Linked DNA regions of Homo sapiens: region 1 is linked to region 2. The links are contacts of gene promoters, found by promoter capture Hi-C in blood cells and fetal thymus (Javierre and others, 2016). All regions are on one chromosome and are shown on one strand. The core of a region is centred on a gene start or on the middle of the fragment in contact, and the rest is flanking DNA. Distances in the headings are between cores, read along the strand shown. Region 1 overlaps GCSIR (GPR55 cis regulatory suppressor of immune response RNA). Region 2 holds the start of SPATA3-AS1 (SPATA3 antisense RNA 1).

Evidence for each region. Contacts are between HindIII fragments. The CHiCAGO score rates a contact against its expected background, and 5 or more counts as called.
Region 1: a contact is called between a fragment that was not itself captured here and the fragment with the promoter of SPATA3-AS1 in region 2, in 14 of 17 cell types (M2 macrophages, M0 macrophages, M1 macrophages and 11 more). The highest score is 21.5, in M2 macrophages.

What each region holds. Positions count from the first base shown.
Region 1 is chr2:230,894,819-230,899,673 of GRCh38, forward strand. It overlaps GCSIR (GPR55 cis regulatory suppressor of immune response RNA), which reads left to right. Exons shown (of 4, transcript NR_038238.1): 2 at 580-787; 3 at 1,141-2,272. Among named protein-coding and RNA genes, the nearest start is that of GCSIR, 11 kb to the left of the region's middle. The HindIII fragment of the contact is 2,050 bases long and covers 2,485-4,534 here.
Region 2 is chr2:230,992,732-230,997,631 of GRCh38, forward strand. SPATA3-AS1 (SPATA3 antisense RNA 1) reads right to left here and starts at 3,301. Exons shown (of 6, transcript NR_033879.1): 1 at 3,117-3,301; 2 at 2,546-2,654. SPATA3 (spermatogenesis associated 3) reads left to right here and starts at 3,390. Exons shown (of 5, transcript NM_139073.5): 1 at 3,390-3,803. The coding sequence starts at 3,503. RefSeq lists an enhancer at 2,901-3,434. The HindIII fragment of the contact is 18,304 bases long and covers 1-4,900 here.

The sequences.
Region 1 (4,855 bases), core at 2,260-4,759, 98 kb before region 2:
GTGGTGGGCCCTGGGCTGTGTGCTGGGCATGGAAAGGCGAACAAGAAACGAACCCTACTCTCGCAAGGCTGATGGTCTAGTCGGGTAGAAGAAGAAACTGGAAGTTATTGGACAGTGCGCTAAGTGTTAGGATGGGGGAGTTCCAGGGCACTGTGGGGACAGGTATACCCAGACCAACCAAGCAAACAAGGGGACTTATGTGTTTAATTCATATTAAATGTCATACTAGGCCGGGCGTGGTGGCTCACACCTGTAATCCCAGAACTTTGGGAGTCCAAGATGGGTGGATCACAAGGTCAGGAGTTCAAGATCAGCCTGGCCAAGATGGTGAAACCCCGTCTCTACTAAAAATACAAAAAATTAGCTGGGTGTGGGACAGGCGCCTGTAATCCCAGCTACTCGGGAGGCTGAGGCAGTGAATTGCTTGAACCTGGGAGGCAGAGGTTGCAGTGAGCCGAGATAGAGCCACTGCACTCCAGCCTGGGTGACAGAGGGAGACTCCATCTCAAAATAAAGAAATAAATAAGTAAATAAATAAATAAATGTCATACTGTGCCACCAAGGCCAATGTCTTCACAGGTTTTTTGACCTTGGCAATGTTCCCGTCAGACTGCAGAAGAATTGACTATTCCCGTTCAGGTAGATGATGACCGGCCCCATAAACAGCCACCAAGGGTCACCCTCTCCCTCCCCAGCCCTGAAGGCCAAGAAATGGGACTGGGCTCCTTGGATTTATGACCTTCTGGCTCCTGCAGAGAGAGGAGGACTGGGGCTTGACAAGGACACGGTAAGCTGGACAGACTCCTGCACGGTGTAGGCTTGAGGCCACATTCCTCGTCCCTCTCTGGCTGGGGGCTGGGGCTGGGTGGACATGGTTCCTCCGTGATGTTCTGCCACCCAGCAGCTTGCCACCCTCTCCAGGTCCTTTGGCAAAATTTCAAACCACGCTGATTGACCTTGGAGCTCCACCCACATCCACACCCTTGGCTGTGTCAGAAACTCCACTACAGGCAAGAAAACAAGGGAACTGGGGTTTATGACTTCTGTTCAGCTTCATTAAATATTTGCTGAGCAACTTTTAGAGGAGTTTTCTGGATTCCACAGAGGGGACTAACTAATTCCACCTCTTCCTTTTAGCAGGGGCTAAGGACTGTCCTTGGATCTCAGTAGGACAGCTGACCTTCCCTCCACCCAATGACTGCTCCAGTCTGATCGTTCCTGGCCACCTGATAATCTCTTTGTGCAAACACCAGGAAGCCCTGGTTAGAGGTGTGGACACCAGGTGTTCTTGAGGAGGACAGTGGTGACTCAGTTTTATCTGACCCCATGCTCTCAAGTTCCTTTTCTGTGAGACACTTCTTATGTGCTACTTTGGACCCTCTCACTTATCTGTGGGCCATTGGCCACTGGCCCCAGCCACAGCTGAGACCACCAACTCTGCATGGACTCAGACAGGCTTCACCCAGGCACACCCAGCAGCCCCTGCCTCAGGTCCCAGCTATGCACCCCTTAGGCTTGCCTGGATACTAGGATGGGAGACACTGCATCCATCCATCCACGACCAGCAAGTAGAGGCAATTAATACCCTTCAGGCGACCCAACGCGAGCTGGGAGCCTGTGCACAAATTATTCTCCTTTTCTCCCAAAAGGATTGTGCCGAGAAACATTTGTGCAGCTTCCCGGAGGATGGCCCTTGGGGTCGAGCAAGCAGTTATGTTTGTTACCAAGCCTCGGCCAGCTCCATAACACACCCTGGAGTTGGCACCACTTCCTTCCCAGCTACACTCCCCTTTCTCTCACACCTGCTCCCTGGGGTCACCTCCCTACCAAAGGAGGGGCACAGGAGCCTTTGTTTCCCGCTCTGCTTTCCAAGAAACCCAAACCAAGCCATGCTGAGTTCCTTCCAGAGCTCCACTTCCACTTCACGGGATCCTCTTAGTACCACAGTCAGCACCCAACATGCCTCTGAGATGGGCGTGTGATCCTGACTGGCCAGTCGGCGCCTTATTTCTCTGGCCACAGAACTTGGCTCAGGAGATGACATGTGACCAATCCGAATTTTCCCTGGGGACTGATACGTGGACACCAGGGACCTCGTGCACCAGTAAGGTCGCTGCCTTCCTTCTCTGCCAGAGATGATTCTGTCTCATCCAATCAAGACTTGAGTGGACTCCAGCTTCCCAGAAAGCCTTTCTCCATCATCCCAGCCCCACGAGATCTTACCCGCTTCACTGGTAACACCCAGAATCCTCAGCACAACTGCTACCACCAGGTACTGCCTTGCTCCTTTACACTGTTATGTTGTTTGAATCTGTTATGCAGCTGATTATGTGTATTCCTATTTCTACTAGGCACACATGGTTCTACCTGGCTAACTACAGTGGATTCATTGCCCAAATGAGGTAGGCAGCTGCTTCAACATATAGAGAGGCCAGGTATCCAATATAAGGAACCACATTATCCCAGTTTGCCTGGAACTTTCCAAGCTTTAACACTGAGTAGCCTTGGTCTCCCTCAGTCCTGGACAGACTGGGACATTTGGTCACCTTGTTCAATGAGCAGGAGCAGGAGGAGAGTGTTGTCTAGGAGAAGCCCCCTTTTATTTATTTCCCTTCTGAGACAGGGTCTCGCTCTGTCACCCAGGTTGGGGTCCAGTGGCAGGATCACAGCTCATTGCAGCCTCAACCTCCCGAGCTCATGCAATCCTCCCACCTCAGCCCCCCAAGTAGCTGGGATGACAAGCACACCACCACACCCAGTTATTATTATTATTATTATTATTTTTAATAGAGACAAGGTCTCACTACATTGCCCAGGCTGGTCTCAAACTCCTGAGCTCACGCGATCCTACCACCTTGGCCTCCCAAAGTGCTTACAGGTGTGAGTCACTGCACCCGGCCGGGAAGCCTCTTTTTAAAGTAAAGGACATAGACTGCACAGATTCAGCCCAGACTCCATCTATTTATCTATTTAATTGAGCTCCTACAATTTATTGAGCTTCTACTATGTGTCTGACACTCTGCTAAGTTCTGAAGATCCAGAGATGAACAAGACCTAGTCCCTTCCCTGAAGAGTTTATAGTTCAGAGCAGGCATTAGGGAAATTTTTTGCAAAGGGCTAGATTACAAGTGTTTTCAGTTTTACAAACCATACAGTCTCTGTCATAACTACCGTGGTCTGCTGTAGCTCCAAAGCAGCCACTGCAGACAGTGTGAATGGACATGACTGTGTCCCCACAAGACTTGAAGGGCAGCAGCCTCCTGGCACAGAGGTGGAGAAAAACACACAAAGCCTCAGAGCACCTGCCAGGCCCCTGCTGAAGGTAGCAGCTCCAGGCGGCCCCATAGGCGGCATCTCACATGGCCCCATCTCCTCCGCCGTGGTTGACTGGACCAGGGAGGAGCACGTGATTCACAGGTAGCCCATCCTCAGGCTGCCAGTGATGGACACGGGTGGAGAGGCCAGCAGAGATAGTGGCCGCCAGCTGGGACAACGGTGGTAGGAGACAGAGACCGAAAGGCAGGAAGGATAGAGCAGAGCCAATAGACTTCCCTGGACCCTCAAGCCCTTCCAAACCTGAGCCGTGTTCCAGGCCCCATGGGGACCTCCCGGGAGGTCTTGCTGTGAGCCTGTCCTGGGACCCGGGCAGGCTTGCACGGAGCTGAGAGTCCTGTCTTCTTTATTTCCATGTACATCCTTCAACAAAACAGCTTTTGCTTCCTTCTTTCTTGTTTAACAATTCAGTAATTTTTAGAAAATTTATAAAGTTGTGCAACCATGCAACCATCACTGTCACCCAGCTTCCATAATAAACCTGAATGAGCTCCCTGCACTCAAGAGACCCTCACTCACCCCAGTTCCTTGTGGAAAGTTAGGGTGCCATGGGATCACAGAGGAGGGACCCCCAGCTGGGGCCAGGGGCTCCGAGAAGTCTTCCCAGAGAGACCCAAGGACAGTCAGAGAATTCCTGGGATGATGTGGGGAAGGGGGATCCCCATCACCTCTTTGACCTTTAGTGGGCAGCAAGGGCCAACATCTGACCAGGTGCCTCGTGCAGCAGGCATGGTGTAGACAGAACACTTTGTCAGATGCCGATGAATCAAGCAGCTTTCCTTTTCCTCCATACCCTCCATGCCCTCCTGTGGCAGCCTCAGTCCACCCCAGCGTCCTTAGACAGGGCCTTGCAGGCCAGGGCACACTGCAGGAAAGGGAAGAATCTGCACGTGGCTCCCTGGGGCCGTCGATGATGGGCTTTGCTGCCTGCACCACCCGAGTTTTCATCCAAGAAAACACCCTAACCTGGTATTTCCCAAGGAATTCAAGTGAAATTGTCAAAAGGGCTTACATCCCTGTTTTAAGGCTGTGGAAGAGGTCTGGCCATACAATCTCCCTCTCCCTTTCCCCTTCACCCCCAGGAAAGAGAGAATCTCCAAGCACCCATACCCAGGGCCTCTGTCTTCCCACTCCCCTCTCCCATCTCCCCATAAGGAGCCTTTCTCTTGCTGAAGCAGGAAACTTCATTTTGCTAACAGGAAGCTTCTTTGTTCCCTGCAAGAGAAACCAGCTCCAGCTAATTCAAGCAAAAGAAGGCTCTTCGCAGGGATGTGGAGCAGCTCACAGTTGCAAAGAGGTTGCTGAGCAACGTGCACTGCCTGGAGGTGACTGCAGCGGCCCTGGGCTTCCCTGGGCTCCCCCGCTGGCAGACAGAATCTGACAGCACGGTTTGGTGCAAGGGTCCCTGGCCTTGGTCCTTTGGATCACTCAGTGACAGGGAACAGGAGCCAGTCTGCTTCCCTATCCCATTAGAAGGATCTGGATTTGCTCCATTCACCCAGACCTGGGTTTCACCAGGAAC
Region 2 (4,900 bases), core at 2,051-4,550:
TTAGTAGAGACAGGATTTTGCCATGTTGGCCAGGCTGGTCTCAAACTCCTGACCTCAGGTGATCCGCCCGCCTCAGCCTCTCAAAGTGCTGGGATTACAGGCATGAGCCACTGTGCCCAGCTTAGAAAGGCTTTATGAAGAGATTTATCCACTTGAGATAGGGCTTGACCAGAAAATGCTTTGGTAGAGGTGCAGAGAGGGATGATAGAGGAGAAGGGCTTCTGAAAATGCAGGAATGTTCAGCCTGTTCATGAGATCTCTGATGTTCACGGTTAGCTAGAGCTGGACACAGGTAGTAGTAGTGGCTGATAAGCACTGGGCAGTGGGCTGTGGCTGTATTATGGAAGAGCCAGGCTTCCTGTATAGGAACAGGTGCTCAAACAGAAAGCAGTGGGGCCAGGCGCAGTGGCTCATGCCTGTAATCCCAACACTTACGGAGGCCAAGGCAGGCAGATCACTTGAGGTCAGGAGTTCGAGACCAGCCTGGCCAACAGAGTGAAACCCTGTCTCCACTAAAACTATAAAAATTAGTCAGGCATGGCGGCGCATGTCTGTAATCTACTCAGGAGCCTGGAGCATGCCTGTAAGCTACTCGGGAGGCTGAGGCAGGAGAATCAGTTGAACCCGGGAGGTGGAGGTTGCAGTGAGCCAAAATTGGGCCACTGCACTCCTGGAGACAGAGTGAGACTCTGAAAACAAAAACAAAAAGAAGAAGAAGAAGAAGGTGGGGGCTGCAGGGAAGACGTTCTAGCAAGGAGCTATTGAGGGACCATTCTTCCTCATTCTTCTGGGACAACCTCTTTCCACAGGTGCCCTCTCTCTGCTTCTTGGGACCACTCTTACTAAAGAATTCACACATATTTTTGCTGCTGCCACAGAGAAATTCCCCACTCCTCCCTCGGCCTGCCCTCTGTGCTTCCTCCATCTTTCTACAGGAAGACAGAGACTCATTCTCTGTGCCCTGTTTGGCTCCTTCTGGTAAAATGGAATATTTCTTTCATTGCTACCAGGAAGTTCTACCTATATGTGTCTGCTCCTATCTGATTCATTTACACCAACATGGCACAATCAGGGGCAATGTGGACACACACACTCCTACCCCATCTCTAGGGGACATTTAGCAATATCTGGAGACATTTTGGGTTGTCCTGGGGTAGGGGGGAGTAAAGACTGGGTAAAGACCAGGGATCTGGTAAACTTCCTACAATACACAGGATGACCCGCCACAACAAAGAATTACTCAGCCCAAAAATGTCAACAGGGCTGAGGTTGAAAAACACTGATTTAAACCAGGTTGAGGCCCTCGGCCGAAGCCCATTGGTACCTGAAAATCCAACTTTGCAGAGATTAATGCCTTAGGAGTTCCTGAGCTGTCTGCTAGATCTCAACAGGGTTCCCGGCCTCGGTTTCCAGTCTCTCTGATTCTAAATGGAGTCCCCTCAAGGGTTCCATTGCTCTTGGCTTCAGGAAATTACCAGCTTCATACAGATTCACTTGCTCCCAGAGCCTCCTTAGGCCAAGGTCAACCAAACACAACCCAATACTCTTGAGCTGAGCTTGCCTTCACTTCTGATCCTTCCTGCCTTTGTTTTCTTCAATCTTCTCGCTCAGGGACCTTTTTTTTTTTTTTGAGACGAGTCTCACTCTGTCGTCAGGCTGGAGTGCAGTGGCACAATCTCGGCTCACCACAACCTCCGCCTCACAGGTTCAAGTGATTCTCCTGCCTCAGCCTCCTGAGTACCTGGGACTACAGGCGTGCACCACCATGCCCAGCTAATTTTTGTATTTTTAGTAGAGACAGGTTTTCACCATGTTGGTTGGCCAGGATGGTCTCAATCTCTTGACCTCATGATCTGCCCGCCTCAGCCTCCCAAAGTGCTGGGATTATAGGCGTGAGCCACCGCACCAGGCCACTGGGGGACTTTTTAATTCATTATTTCAAAGCCTGTATAATTATCTGACTCCCTATTGTTTTCTGGGATCATGAAAATAATGAGCCCCAAACTGGAATTTAGTCCTTCCGATGCCCCCAGCCAGCTGTGTGACCCTGGGAAAGTAACTTAATTTCGCTAAACCTCAGTGTTCTGAGGAAAGGTCATCATTAAGGTATTTTTAGGCTCTAGAAGCCCTAAACTATGTCCTGTCATTTCAGAGTTCATGTTGGGTCTGGCTTTGTGTGGCCCAAAGCCCCCCATTTTTTTTTAAGACAGAGTCTCGCTCTGTCGCCCAGGCTGGAGTGCAGTGGCACGATCTCGGCTCACTGAAAGCTCCACCTCCAAGGTTCACGCCATTCTCCTGCCGAGTAGCTGGGACTACAGGCACCCACCACCACGCCCGGCTAATTTTTTGTATTTTTAGTAGAGACGGGGTTTCACCATGTCAGCCAGGATGGTCTCAATCTCCTGACCTCGTGATCTGCCCGCCTCAGCCTCCCAAAGTGCTGGGATTACAGGCGTGACCGAAGCCCTTTTTATCTGCATAGGTCTGCTCTAAACCTTCCGCTGGGGCAGGAGCTCCTGCGCTTGCCAGTCCCACACTCACCCACCTGTGACACACTGGCGATGAAAGCAGTCTCCTCAGGTGAACACATTTTATGTTGCAGTCACAGTATGAGCTTCAGATTGTCTTTTAAAAATACTTTTCCTTCTTCCATCCTAAAACAAAAATCACATTTAATGAGCACATTAAATTAATTAATCTAGAGAAAGATTCAGTCACCTGTTTAACCCAACCAATTGGGGTTTGGGAGATAGTCTGTGGTTGCCATTGCCATGAGTTTGAGACAAATGTTAGTTTTCTGAACAGCTGTTATGTTCTCAGGGAAAATTATCTGCCAAATGCAAAGGTTCTTATAAAAGTCAAGTCAACCCCCAAACTCCCCTCCCACAGTGCGGGAGGGCAGGCTTTGGGGGAAGGGGTAAGCTACTCTGAGATGGTAGCAGGCTCTGGGCCATGGTAAAGCCTTCGAAGAAGCTCCAAATCTTCAGGAAGCTGACCTGAAGATGAATGCGTGGGGAACATGGATTTTTGAGGTGTAGGAGTAGGGGGTATGTGGAAGCCAGTGACAGAGCTGAGCGTCACATCCAGGGTATCTTAGAGCAAAACAGGTAGCTCACATGGACCCAGGAACACGCCAGCAGAGAGGTGTCTGAAGGCAGCGCTCAGGTCGCAGAAGCATGAGGATCTGGCTGTCACCAGCCCCGTAGCCAGGGCTGTGAGGACCAGGGCAGCCGCTGTCCCCTGCCTAGCCTGGCAGCCTGGGATGAAGGAGGACACCAGGCTGGTGTCTGCAGAGAAGACTGTCCCTTGAAGCCCTGCCATAGGAGCCACCCTGGCTTTTATGACCTCACAGGAGGTGTGGGTCACTGTTCTCTGTGGGGCCTGGGTCCAGCTGGAGGCCCAAGCCAGGCTCCTAGGGCAGAGGGCAAACGGCCCCTCCAGGAGGGAGCCGGGAGATTACGCAGCTCCATGTAGGTCCACGTTTAGGTTGGGAGGATCTACCATGAAGAAGGTCAAGAAGAAAAGGTCAGAGGCCAGACGCCACCGAGACTCCACCTCCCAGCATGCTAGCTCCAATTCCACCTCTCAGCAGCCTAGCCCTGAATCCACACCACAGCAGCCTAGTCCTGAATCCACACCACAGCAGCCTAGCCCTGAATCCACACCACAGCATTCCAGCCTTGAAACCACCTCCCGGCAGCCAGCATTCCAAGCCCTTCCAGCACCCGAAATCCGCCGCTCCTCTTGCTGCCTTTTATCTCCAGATGCTAACGTGAAGGCAGCCCCTCAATCCAGGAAAGCAGGTGGGCTGTCTTCTAGCTTCAGCAGTTCCAGCCTTCCTGCTGATGGAGTTCTGGGTCATCCCAAAGGCTGGTTCTTGTAGGATAGTGATGCATGGTTAACGTGTATCCTGGAGCTGTGCTGTAGAGTGGGAAGGTTTTTGTTTTTGTTTCTACCCAAGAGACCAGGATTCCTGGGTTTTGTCATTTCTCATCATCCTGAGTCTCACTGAAGACAGCCACACATACATATAAACATTTAACTTGGTTCCATAGTAATACTTGCTCACTAGGAATCAGCAGTGCCATGCAACTGCTAAAAAATAAAAACCAAGGATGCATTTATAGAAGTATATGGTTTAGAATAAGGGAGGTGATGATACTGCTTTATTCTGTCCTCATCAAGCTATCCTTTTGGGCTGTAAAAGATGCCTGACAAACTAGTCCAAGGAAGATAGTCTGGGTTGATGGAGGATGAGAAGGATCAGGGAGACCATTTAGTGTATGACAGTCAATTGAAGGAATTGGAGGATGTCTGTCTGTCAAGTGGAAGATGTGAATAGACTTGTTCCTTATTGTCCTCAGAGATCTAAGGGTCTGATGTGGTTTGGCTGTGTCCCCACCCAAATCTCTTCTTGAATTCCCAGGTGTTGTAGGAAGGACCCAGTGGGAAGTGATTGAATCACGGGGGAGGGTCTTTTCCGTGGTGTTCTCGTGATAGTGAATAAGTTTCATGAGATCTAATGGTTTTAAAAAAGGGAGTTTCCCTGCACAAACTCTCTTCTCTTGTCTGCCGCCATGTGAGATGTGCCTTTCACCTTCCACCATGATTGTGAGGCCTCCCCAGCCACGTGGAACTGTAAGTTCCACAAACCTCTTTCTTTTGTAAATTGCCTAGTCTCAGATATGTCTTTATCAGCAGTGTGAAAACAGACAAATACAGGCCCATGGATAGGATAGCCAGACAAAATACAAGACTCTCAGTTAAATTTTAATTTTAGTAAACAACAAATAATATTTTTAGTATGTGTGTCCCCAGTATTGCATGGGCATCCTATATTTTTATTTGCTAAATTAGCAATCTTACCCATGGAAGACATTAGTGACAGAAAGCCTTCGGC